2 separate regions of the Homo sapiens genome follow, and region 1 is linked to region 2. Evidence: promoter capture Hi-C in human tissues and cell types (Jung and others, 2019). All regions are on one chromosome and are shown on one strand. The core of a region is centred on a gene start or on the middle of the fragment in contact, and the rest is flanking DNA. Distances in the headings are between cores, read along the strand shown. Region 1 overlaps FAM222B (family with sequence similarity 222 member B). Region 2 holds the start of FAM222B (family with sequence similarity 222 member B).

The links. The method cuts DNA at HindIII sites, captures the fragments that hold promoters and counts their contacts. A contact is called where the count stands out against the background at its distance.
Region 1: a fragment that was not itself captured here is called in contact with the fragment with the promoter of FAM222B in region 2 in 1 of the 25 tissues and cell types used here (adrenal gland).

Annotation. Positions count from the first base shown.
Region 1 is chr17:28,802,811-28,808,774 of GRCh38, reverse strand. The region is part of intron 1 of FAM222B (family with sequence similarity 222 member B); the gene reads left to right. Among named protein-coding and RNA genes, the nearest start is that of FAM222B, 37 kb to the left of the region's middle. RefSeq lists an enhancer at 1-34. The HindIII fragment of the contact is 5,160 bases long and covers 1-4,116 here.
Region 2 is chr17:28,839,980-28,846,194 of GRCh38, reverse strand. FAM222B (family with sequence similarity 222 member B) reads left to right here and starts at 3,405. Exons shown (of 3, transcript NM_001077498.3): 1 at 3,405-3,513. RefSeq lists a silencer at 3,437-3,626 and an enhancer at 3,312-3,826. The HindIII fragment of the contact is 21,274 bases long and covers 1-6,215 here.

The sequences.
Region 1 (5,964 bases), core at 287-2,786, 36 kb after region 2:
GATGCATTCATATGGAGATGTGGGTGATGGTAGTTTTTAGCTTTTCAGCTTTTTCAGTCAGGTGTCAGAGACAATATTTTGTGTGTTTAAGCACAATCCCCTCCCCCAGGGTTTGACTCTTGGAAGCTGAATCTTTTGAGGAAGTTGTTTGCTATGAGTCTGAATCCTGAAAGTAGAGGACTTGATGGAGTCTGTAATCTGTTTACCACTCAGATGAGGATGTAGAATTTATTGTTGGTGAGTTACTGAACTCTTCCTAAAGAATGGTTGCTTAGGCAAATTTTCTCTCAATCAGTTTAACCCTTAGTAGTTTACAGTCTGTTCTCAGTGAAGGCCAGAGCTGTCTTTCTAATGATACTGTCCTTTAAGAATCCTTGTTGGATATGCATGTGTGTTGTTCAGTGGCTCAAAATAAAGGACTGGAATGATGTATGGTTCTCTCTTCATCCAGGACAATTTAGCTTTTGGTAACCTGGGCTGGCATTGTTATTAATTTCTCTCCTAGATCAAATGGTTGGTGGGGTTGCTTTCCAACGTTAAGACACCACTGTGTTTGATTATTTTGGTTTTGTAACTAATAGGGCAATGAGTAATGCATTCATTTTGGAAACAGGCCAGTGGTAACACAGCTCTTGGGCCTGCTGGACGTGTGGAAAAATAGGACAGAGTAAACAATTGAGGGCATAAATAATGAATCTTCCAACTGAGCCCTGGGAGAGTGAGGGAGATTATCCTCAGAGCTGTTCAGTCTGGCAGTAAAAGGGAAAGAGTCCACTGAATTAATTACCCAGACTGTATTTGATACTGCAGGAGGTATGAGATTGTCAAAACCATTCAAAACAAAGTTACCTTTCCGATACAAACTTTTAATCCATCTTTTTGTTTGTTTTAAACCAGACATTTGAATTGTTCATTTATTTTTTAGAGTCCAGGCCTTTGTATCTTCTTTAAACTTTGTTCTATATGTTAGCATTCTGTGAACACTTGATGGTCCTTTTGTTTAGTCAGATCTTAGAAGTTTACTTCATTAGAGATTTCATGATCTGTAAATACATAAAACGTCTCACAAAAGGTTAAGACAAGAGTTTGGGCCAGATGTGGTGACTCATGCTTGTAATCCCAACACTTCAGGAGGCTGAGGCGGACGGATCACTTGAGGCCAGGAGTTCAAGACCAGCCTGACCAACATGGTGAAACCTCATCTCTACTAAAAATATGAAAATTAGCTGGGCATGGTGGCACAGGCCTGTAATTCCAGCTACTCAGGAGGCTGAGGCAGGAGAATTGCTTGAACCCAGGAAGTGGGGGTTGCAGTGAGCTGAGATCGTTGGACTGCACTCCAGCCTGGGTGACAGAGTGAGACTCCACATAAAAGCAAAACAAACAAACAAAAAAACACACACACAAAAACAAGCGTTTCTTCAGCCCAAGAATCATTTCCAGTATTAAGATAAATATTTGCCAGGCGCGGTGGCTCACGCCTGTAATCCCAGGACTTTGGGAAGCTGAGGCAGGCGGATCACCTGAGTTCGGGAGTTCAAGACCAGCTTGACCAACATGGAGAAACCCCATCTCTATTAAAAATACAAAAATTAGCTGGGTGTGGTGGTGCGTGCCTATAATCCCAGCTACTTGGGAAGCCCAGGCAGGAGAATCGCTTGAACCCAGGAGGTAGAGGTTGCAGTGAGCCGAGATTGTGCCATTGCACTCCAGCCTGGGCAACAGGAACGAAATTCCATCTAAAAAAAAAAAAAGATAAAAAAAGATAAATAGTCTTACTTTTGGATAGTTTTTATCCAGTGAATTAAATGAACATCGGTCTCAGCATTTCTCTGAAGTAGGGAAAACTAATGGCCTGTGATTATCTAAATAACTTAAGTGATTTGGTAGTGAAGCCAGACCGAGAGCCAAGGTCTCTGAATTCTTCCTTTCTCTGAATTTCTAATATAGCTTATTATTTTCTCCAAGAAATTTCAGGAACCCTATTTGAAATGATTTGAAGTTTTCCTATATCTACCCTGAGAGGCTTTTTTTATCTTTCTGGTTGTGAAGGGGATCCAAACACCAGTATGCTATTATTAATCAAAAGAAGAATGCTCAAGATGAGGTATTGGAGAAAGAAAAAATAAAGTTGTTAAGAAAAGACCAACTTGAAGGTGATTTTATTTTGTTTTGTTTTGAGACAGGGTGCCGTCCCAATTATATTGCCCAGGCTGGCCTTGAACTCCCGGACTCAAGCAGTACTCCTGACCCAGCCACCGAAGGGACTACAGGTGTGCACCGTGGTGCCCGACTTCCAAATTGAAGTTTTATTATATTTGGTGCTGGTGGATCCCAGGAAGGAAATACTGGGCTGGTTAGATTAAATTCAGTCATGGACTGAGTTTGTTACATTGCGGCCTAACTGAAAAGGGCAGAGGGCATCTTTACCAAGATATGGACAAGACTCTAGTTAAGAGTTCATTCCTTAGATTCACAGAGACCAAAAAGTGGAAAAAACAAAAGTTCATTCCTGATCTTTGAAAAGTCTGTTATTGATTATACACACAAAAGGGCAAGCAGGCAAAGTATAGACAGGTGAAATCAATCCAAAGATATTCTCAAGGACACTTTTTTTTTTTTTAGTTGGAGTTTCACTCTTGTTGCCTAGGTTGGAGTGCAATGGCGCGATCTCGGCTCACTGCAATGTCCACCTCCCAGGTTCAAGCGATTCTCCTGTCTCAGCCTCCCAAGTAGCTGGGATTATAGGAATGTGCCACCACATGCACCATGTGCCCAGCTAATTTTGTATTTTTAGTAGAGATGGGGTTTCTCCATGTTGGTCAGGCTGGTCTCGAACTCCCGACCTCAGGTGATACGCCCACCTCCACCTCCCAAAGTGCTGGGATTACAGGCGTGACCCACCGTGCCCTGCCTCAAGGGCACATTTTTAGGCAACAGCTTTAACTTCCTCTGGTTTTTAACTGAGGTTTTCTAGGCATACAGACTACTGAAAAATTTGTTTTTTTCTTTGGTCATTCAACTAAGCAGTAGGCAAGATAGCCAAGAACCTGTATTACACTTAGTTTTGTTTTGAGACAGAGATCCCACTTTTTTGTGTTTCTCTTTCTTTCTTTTTTTTTTTGAGACAGGTTCTCACTGTGTCATCCAGGTTCGAATATAGTGTGATCACGGCTCACTGCAGTCTCCACCCCTTGGGCTCAGGCAGTCTTCCCATCTCAGCCTCTTTTATTTTTTTTGAGATGGGAGGCTTGCTCTGTCACCCAGGCTGGAGTTCAGTGGCATGATCTCGGCTCACTGTAACCTCCACCTCCTGGGTTCAAGTGATTCTTGTGCCTCAGCCTCCTGAATAGCTGGGATTACAGGCATGTACCACCACACCAGGCTAATTTTTGAATTTTCAGTAGAGACGGGGTTTCACCATGTTGGCCAGGTTGGTCTCGAACTTCTGGCCTCAAGTGATCTGCCTGCCATGGCCTCCCAAAGTGGTGTGAGCCACCATGCCCGGCCCATCTCAGCCTCTTGAGTAGGTAGGACCACAGGTTCGCATCATCATGCCTGGCTACTTTTTTCATTTTTTATAGAGACGGGGTCTCCCTATGTTGTCCAGGTTGGTCCCAAACTCCTGGGCTCCAATGATCCTCCCACCTTGGCCTCCCAAGTGCTGGGATTAGAACCATGAGCTATCATGTCCAGACTACACTTAGTTTCTTTCTTTTTTTTTTTCCTGAGATGGAGTCTCGCTCTGTCGCCCAGACCAGAGTGCAGTGGCGTGATCTCGGCTCACTGCAAGCTCTGCCAATGGGGTTCACGCCATTCCCCCGCCTCAGCCTCCCGAGTAGCTGGGACTATAGGTGCCTGCCACCACGCCTGGCTAATTTTGTTTCTGTATTTTCAGTAGAGATGGGGTTTCACTGTGTTAGCCAGGATGGTCTCGATATCCTGACCTTGTGATCTGCCCACCTTGGCCTCCCAGAGTGCTGGGATTATAGGCGTGAGCCACCGCACCCGGCCTGCACTTAGTTTCTTAATCATCAAAAGTAGTATATAACTCAGTACTGGACCTAGAAAAATTCAGCTCAATGTAGTATCCTTGGGACAGTTTGTTTTATTTAATACTAAATATAAAATCTATATTAGAGGCCAGGCATGGTGGCTCATGCCTGTAATCCCAGCACTTTGGGAGGCCGAGGTGTGTGGATCACAAGGTCAAGAGATCAAGGCCATCCTGGCCAACATAGTGAAACCCCTTCTCTACTAAAAAATACAAAAGTTAGCTGGGCGTGGTGGCGCGTGCCTGTAGTCCCAGCTACTCGGGAGGCTGAGGCAGGAGAATCGCTTGAACCCGAGAGGTGGAGGTTGCGGTGAGCCGAGATCGCGCCACTGCGCTCTAGGCTGGCGACAGGGCGAGACTGTGCCTGAAAAAAAAAAAAAATCTGTATTAGCATTCTCCAGAGAAACAACCAGTAGGGTAAATATATAAGAGGGGATTAGGACTTGGCTCATTTAGTTATGGAGGCTGAGAAGTTCCACAATATGCTGTCTGCAAGCCCGAGAACCAGGAAAGCTGGTGGTGTCATTCAGTCTGAGACCAAAGGCCTAAGAACTAGGAGCTCTGATTGCCAAGGGGAGGAGAAGATAGATGTCCTGGTTCCCGAAGAGACCTGACCTTTGTTACTTAATCACACTGAGGTGCTATGGAGAATTAAAATCTTTCAAGTAAGTCATACGTAAACTAGCTTTTGATACTGAAATGTCATTTTTGTTTGTTTTTTGCTTTTTGGTTTTTTTTTTGAGACGTGGTCTTGCTCTGTCACCCAGGCTGGAGCGCAGTGGCATGATCTCGGCTTACTGCATCCTCTGCCTCCCAGGTTCAAAAAGTTCTCTGCCTCAGCCTCCCAAGTAGTTGGGATTACAGGCACCTGCCACCACACCCAGCTAATTTTTTTGTATTTTTTTAGTAGAGATGGGGTTTCACCATCTTGGCCAGGCTGGTCTTGAACTCCTGACCTCTTGATCCACCCGTCTCGGCCTCCCAAAGTGCTGGGATTACAGGCGTGAGCCACCGCACCTGGCTGAAATGTCTTCATTGTTGGTGTCTTCTGACCCCATAGTATATGTAAATAATTCATCATATGTGGGTGAGCTGTTGGTAGCTAAGCCAAAGAAACAAACTGCAGCCAGACACAGTGGCTTATGCCTGTAATCCCAACACTTTGGGAGACTGAGGCAGGAGGATTGCTTGAGCCCAGGAGTTTGAGACCCGCCCAAGCAAGATGGTGAGACCCTCTCTATAAAAAAATTAGGTGGGTGTGGTGATGTGTGCCTGTACTCCCAGCTACTTGGGAGGCTGAGATGGAAAGATCCCTTGAGCCCAGGAGTTCGAGGTTGCAGTGAGCTGCTATCCCAAGTAGTGAGAGAGCAGGGTGAGAGAGCAGGACCGTGTCTCTAAAAAGAAAAAAGAAGAACCTGGGTACGGTGGCTCATGCCTGTAATCTCCACACTTTGGGAGGCCAAGGTGGGCAGATCACTTGAAGTCAGGCATTCGAGACCAGCCTGGCCAACCTGGTGAAACACTGTCTCTACTAAAATTCAAAAATTAGCCAGGCATGGTGGCATGCACCTGTAATCCCAGTTACTCAGGAGGCTAAGGCAGGAGAATTGCTTGAACTTGGGAGGTGGAGGTTGCAGTGAGCCGAGATTGCACCACTGTACTCCAGCCTAGGCAACAGAGTGGGACTCCCTCTCAAAAAAAAAAAGAAAAAGCAAAGAAACAAACCTCTCTTCTTAACCAAAGCAAAGTTTTCTAACACTGGGCAATACTTGCTAATAATCAGAGCTGTTGGCTGAAATGAAATCCATTTAGAATAGTCAGTGTGTGATGAAAGTAGTACTGTCATCACTTTGTTGTTGTTTTTGCAGTTGTATAATTTTATTTGATGACCAGTGGTTAGTTCTTATCCA
Region 2 (6,215 bases), core at 2,156-4,655:
GTCTTGCTCTGTCGCCCAGGCTGGAGTGCAGTGGCATGGTCTCGGCTCACTGCAACCTCCACCTCCTGGGTTCACGCCGTTCTCCTGCCTCAGCCTCCTGTGTACCTGGGACTACAGGCGCCCGCCACCATGCCCAGCTAATTTTTTGTATTTTTAGTAGAGACGGGGTTTCACCGTGTTAGCCAGGATGGTCTCGATCTCCTGACCTCGTGATCCACCCGCCTTGGCCTCCCAAAGTGCTGAGATTACAGGCGTGAGCCACCAGGCCCAACCCTTATTTATTTATTTATTTTTCTTTTTGAGATGGAGCCTTGCTCTGTCACCCAGGCTGGATTGCAGTGGCGCAATCTTGGCTCACTACAACCTCCACCTCCCGGGTTCAATTGATTGTCCCACCTCAGCCCCCCAAGTAGCTGGGACTACAGGCACCCGCCACCATGCCCGGCTAATTTTTTGTATTTTTAGTAGAGATGGGGTTTCACCGTGTTAGCCAGAATGGTCTCGATCTCCTGACCTTATGATCTGCCCACCTCGGCTTCCCAAAGTGCTGGGATTACAGGTGTGACCCACTGTGCCTGGCCTATTTATTTATTTTTTCTTTTTTTCCTTTTTTTTTTGAGACAGAGTCTCGCTCTGTCGCCAAGGCTGGAGTGCAGTGGCGCGATCTCGGCTCACTGCAAGCTCCGCTTCCCAGTTCATGCCATTCTCCTGCCTCGGCCTCCCGTGTAGCTGGGACTACAGGCGCCCACCACCACGCCCAGCCAATTTTTTTGTATTTTTGTATTTTTTTTTTTTGAGATGGAGTCTCGCTCTGTCCCCAGGCTGGAGTGCAGTGGCACCGTCTTGGCTCACTGCAAGCTCTGCCTCCGGGCTTCACGCCATTCTCCCGCCTCAGCCTCCCAAGTAGCTGGGACTGCAGGGGCCCGCCACCATGCCCGGCTAATTTTTTATATTTTTAGTAGAGATGAGGTTTCACCGTGTTAGCCAGGATGGTCTCGATTTCCTGACCTCGTGATCCGCCCACCTCGACCTCCCAAAGTGCTGGGATTACAGGCCTGAGCCACCGCGCCCGGCCCTATTTATTTTTTTAATTGAGATGGAGTCTCACTCTGTTATCCAGGCTGGAGTGCAGTGGTGCGATCTCGGCTCATTGTAACCTCCGTTCCTGGGTTCAAGCGATTTTCCTGCCTCAGCCTCCTGAGTAGCTGGGACTACAGGTGCATGCCACCATGCCCAGATAATTTTTGTATTTTTTCAGTAGAGACAGGGTTTCACCGTGTTGGCCAGGCTGGTCTCGAATTCCTGGCTTCAAGTGATCCGCCCGCCTTAACCTCCCAAAGTGCTGGGTTTACAGGCATGAGCTATCTTGCCTGGCCACTATTTTTTAGATTTTTTGTAGAGATGAGTCTCCCTATGTTGCCCAGGCTGGTCTCTAACTCCTGGGCTCAAGCAATCCTCCCAACCTGGCCTCCCAAAATGTTGGGATTACAAGCATAAGTCACTATGCCCAGCTTTATTTTTAATTTTTTTTTCTTTTGAGACGGAGTCTCGCTCTGTCGCCCAGGCTGGAATGCAGTGGCTTGATCTCGGCTCACTGCAAGCTCCGCCTCCCGGGTTCACGCCATTCTCTTGCCTCAGCCTCCTGAGTAGCTGGGACTACAGGCGCCCGCCACCACGCCCGGCTAATTTTTTGTATTTTTAGTGAGACGGGGTTTCACCGTGTTAGCCAGGATGGTCTCGATCTCCTGACCTCATGATCCGCCCGCCTCGGCCTCCCAAAGTGCTGGGATTACAGGCGTGAGCCACTGCACCTGGCCTATTTAAATTTTTTTAACATTCCTCATTGAGCACTCAACTTGTCTTTTTTTCTTCTCTTTTTCCCCCTTACGTTGTATCTTGGGCCTTATGTGTCCAAACTCTGAAGAGAGGAGACCAGCGCTGGAGTTGAGAGAGAAAAAAGAGCCATGGTGATGAGGAGAGAGTTTAGTCCTGTACCTCCTCTTGCCTGCTGCTTTCAAGTCTGTTTTGTTGAATTCTCAGGACTCGATTGAGCTTAGTCTCTTGTCAGGCTATGCCAAAGCAGCACAGTAGTCTAGGGACTGACAGTTGGGCCTCACTGGACTTTAGTGGTTTTCTTTTACCAGTTTGAAAAAGGGCCAGGCTCACAGTGAGAGCTGGAAAGCAGGGGACTATTTGCCTGCGAATTCCTCAATAGCATACACGCGATGCCTAGAACATTTCTGTCCAATAAACAGCATGTGCTTGATAAACATACTGAACTTAGCGGTGTCCCCAGTGCATTCTAGGCGAGGTCACCTCCTTGACAAGGTCCCCAGGACTTCATTGCACCTCCTAGCTAGTAGCGTATTCTAGGATGGCAAAGCTGCCTTTACATAATTACCCCCGATACATTCTAGACACGATCATCTTGAAAGAGACCCAAATTTTACCAGGCATGGTGACTCAGGCCTGTAATCCCAGCACTTTGGGAGGCCGGGGCGGGCGAATCATCTGAGGTCAGGAGTTCGAGACCAGCCTGGCCAACATGGTGAAACCCCGTCTCTACTAAAAATACAAAAGTTAGCCAGGCGTGGTGGTGCAAGCCTGTAATCCCAGCTAGTCAGGAGGCTGAGGCAGGAGAATCGTTTGAACCCGGGAGGCGGAGGTTGCAGTGAGCTGAGATCGCGCCACTGCACTCCAGCCTGGGCAACAAGAGCAAAACTCCGTCTCAAAAAAAAAAAAAAAAAAAAAAGACCCAGGCTGGGCGCGGTGGCTCATGCTTGTAATCCCAGCGCTTTAGAAGGCTGAGGTGGGTGGATCACCTGAGGTCGGGAGTTCGAGACCAGCCTGACCAACATGATAAAACCCCGTCTCTACTAAAAATACAAAATTAGCTGGGCGTGGTGGTGCATGCCTGTAATCCCAGCTACTCGGGAGGCTGAGGCAGGAGAATCGCTTGAACCCGGGAGGCGGAGGTTGTTTGAGCCGAGATCACGCCATTGCACTCCAACCTGGACAACAAGAGCGAAACTTCGACTCAGAAAAAAAAAAAAAAAGACCCAAATTTATCATCAGTGGTCACCTCAGAGCACCTGAATTCAGGCCTTTAAGTGCAAGTAGGATGCAGAATTCTGGAAGAGCCAGTAAGTCTGTGGCTCCTTGGGGAAGCGCGATCCAAGGGTTTAGTAACCTAGGCACGGTACTCCAGAGGCGTACCCTGAGGCAGCCGCCAAATTCTCTAAGCCTCAGAATTCTTCAAGGCCAGCTCCCATGTCCACTAGAGACCCAGGGGTCCAGACCATCAGGCACTGAGGAAGACGCCCCCGGCAGGGGCTGCGCAGGCGCGTGCGGCCCGAAAGGGCCCAGGCGCTACACGCTGCGCAGGCGCAGGAGCGGCTCCGGGTAGTCCCCACAGCTGCGCCGGTGACTGAGGGGCCGGGCAGTGGAGAAGTGGTGGCGGCGGGCGGCGGGCGGCAAAGGAGCAGCCATGAGGGCCGGGCCCAGTCACCGACCGTGAGTAGTGGTGGAGGGGGAGTGGACAACGCGTGGGAAGAGGGTAACTTAGCGGAAGGATACATGACTTTGTGGGGTGGGCTCTGACTGTGGGAGACGGAAGGGCGTGGGGGAGGTACAGTTTGAGGTGATGATGGGAGAATTTGGGGCACGGGTGGCCCGGTCGCCGGCCGCAGAGCTGGACAGCTTGGTGGAGGGGGACGGGGTTGCGTGCTGTGGAGTGAAGCAGCCCATTTGTATCATCCCTTCCTCCAGGAGCTTTTGGTCGCCTCTCCTTTCCGCTTCTTTCAGAGAATGATTGCGGGGGGAGGGTGGTGGAGGATGAAAGCTCTGCTGGAGCTTAAGAAGCCACCTCTGAACCAGGCAGGGGAAGGGTCGGTCTCCCGGAGTAATAGGCTGCTCTGGGTAGAGGATGGGAGTCGGGAACCCTCTTTTGAAAGCCGGGAGGGGTCTAGGGAAAAGAGCTAGGGGCTTAGAGTCAGGCAGGTTCGAAAGGAAGTCCACCATTGATAAAGCTGTTAGGTAACCTTGGGCAGGTCCCACTTAACCTTTCTGAACACCAGGAAGATGTCATGCTTCAAACGGGCTATTGCAAGCATCACCTATGTAATTGAGATTGTTTATGCAAATTGTGAATTGTAAGTACTATGTTGATGTTAATGTATCACCAACAATGTTAGTGGAATTTAGACCTTACCGTTGTTAATGGAATGACTGATTTCTCTGTTAAGATAAGAAGCGTATTGTTTGTAAAACCTCAGTAGACACATATGTGCTTTCTTTATGGGCACAGCAGACCATGTGCAGAACTACCAGTTCTGTAATGTGATAAATTAGCCATCAGACTTCTGTAGGAAAAATACCGTACTCCGGCGTTTTTACAAACGGTTTGCAGCTCCTCACCCGAAAGGATGGAGGGCCAATCTATTAAAATATTTTCTGAACATAGCTAACTCATGTTGCCTTATAACACAGTTGGCACTAATGTGCTTTAACGAGTTGAGAAAAGGCCGGGTGCAGTGGCTCATGTCTGTAATCCCAGCACTTTGGGAGGCCGAGGCGGGCGGATCACGAGGTCAGAAGTTGGAGACCAGCCTAGCCAACGTAGTGAAATCCCGTCTCTACTAAAAATACAAAAAATCAGCCGGGTGTGGTGGCGGGCGCCTGTAATCCCAGCTGCTTGGGAAGCTGAGGCAGGGGAATCACTCGAACCCGGGAGGCAGAGGTTGCGGTGAGCCGAGATAGTGCTATTGCACTCCAGTTCGGGTGACAGTGCGAGACTCCGTCTGGAAAAAAGAGTTAAGAAAACTAGTTTGAGACAAGCTGGGAGGGCTGCCCAGTGAGGGATGTGAAAATATAATTTGTTTATTATATTTTATTTTATTTTTGAGACGGAGTCTCGCTCTGTCGCCAGGCAGGAGTGCAGTGGCATCATCTCGGCTCACAGCAACCTCCGCCTCCCGGGTTCAAGCGATTCTCCTGTCTCAGCCTCCTGAGTAGCTGGGATTACAAATGCCCACCACCACGCCTGGCTAATTTTTGTAGTTTTAGTAGAGATGGGGTTTCACCATGTTGGCCAGGCTGGTCTTGAACTCCTCACGTCAGGTGATCCACCCACCTCGGCCTCTCAAAGTGCCGGGATTACAGGCGTGAGCCACCGTGCCTGGCTATTTTGTTATCTTTATTTTTATTTTATTTTATTATAATTTTTTTTGAGGTGGGTGAAGGAGTCTTGCTCTGTCACCCAGGCTGGAGTGCAGTGGTGCGAACTTGGTTCACTGCAACCTCCGCCTCCTGGGTTCAAGCAATTCTCCTGCCTCAGCCTCCCTAGTACCTGGGATTATAGGCACGTGCCACCATACCCGGCTAATTTTTGTATTTTTTTTAGTACACTCGGGGTTTCTCCATTGCTGGACAGGCTGGTCTCAAACTTCTGACCTCAGGTGATCCGCCCGCCCCAGCCTCCCAAAGTGCTGGGATTACAGGCGTGAACCACCGTGCTTGGCCCATTTTATTATTTTTAAATTATAAAAAGTTCTCCTTTGCAAAGGAGTCTCTGGCTGCTCCGGGGACCTGTCGCTGTTTTGGAGGTCAGATATGCATAAGGCAGCCCTCTAGCTCTGCTTTTTGTTACCCTGCTTGTCAGTGGGATCTCTCAGGTGGAATATCTCAGAAGAGGAGCCCAAGAGGTGTCTTGGTTTTCCTGAGAGGCTGAAGAAACACTCCTGAGACGTGTTTTTTAATGTAGACAAAGCAGAGGACAAACTATGTGTTTATGGAAAGAGAAAATGGGTTCTTTTTATTTTATTTTGTTTTGACACAGAGTCTTGTTCTGTCGCCCAGGCTGGAGTGCAGTAGCGCAATCTCGGCTCATTGCAACCTCCACCTCCCGGGTTCAAGCAGTTCTCCTGCCTCAGCCTCCAAGTAGTTGCGATTACAGGCACCCACCACCATGCCCGGCTAGTTTTTGTATTTTTAGTAGAGATGGGGTTTCGCCATTTTGGTCAGGCTGGTTTCGAACCAGGTGATCCGCCTGCCTCGGCCTCCCAAAGTGCTGGGATCACAGGCGTAAGCCACCAAGCGCAGTGAGAAAATGGTTTCTAAAGTAGAGATGCAGACTCCTTTTAAAAGGACATAGACACTTCAGCTTTGCTGACTCTGAGGATTGAGACCTTAAACTGTCAAGGCGTTTTGGCAATTGA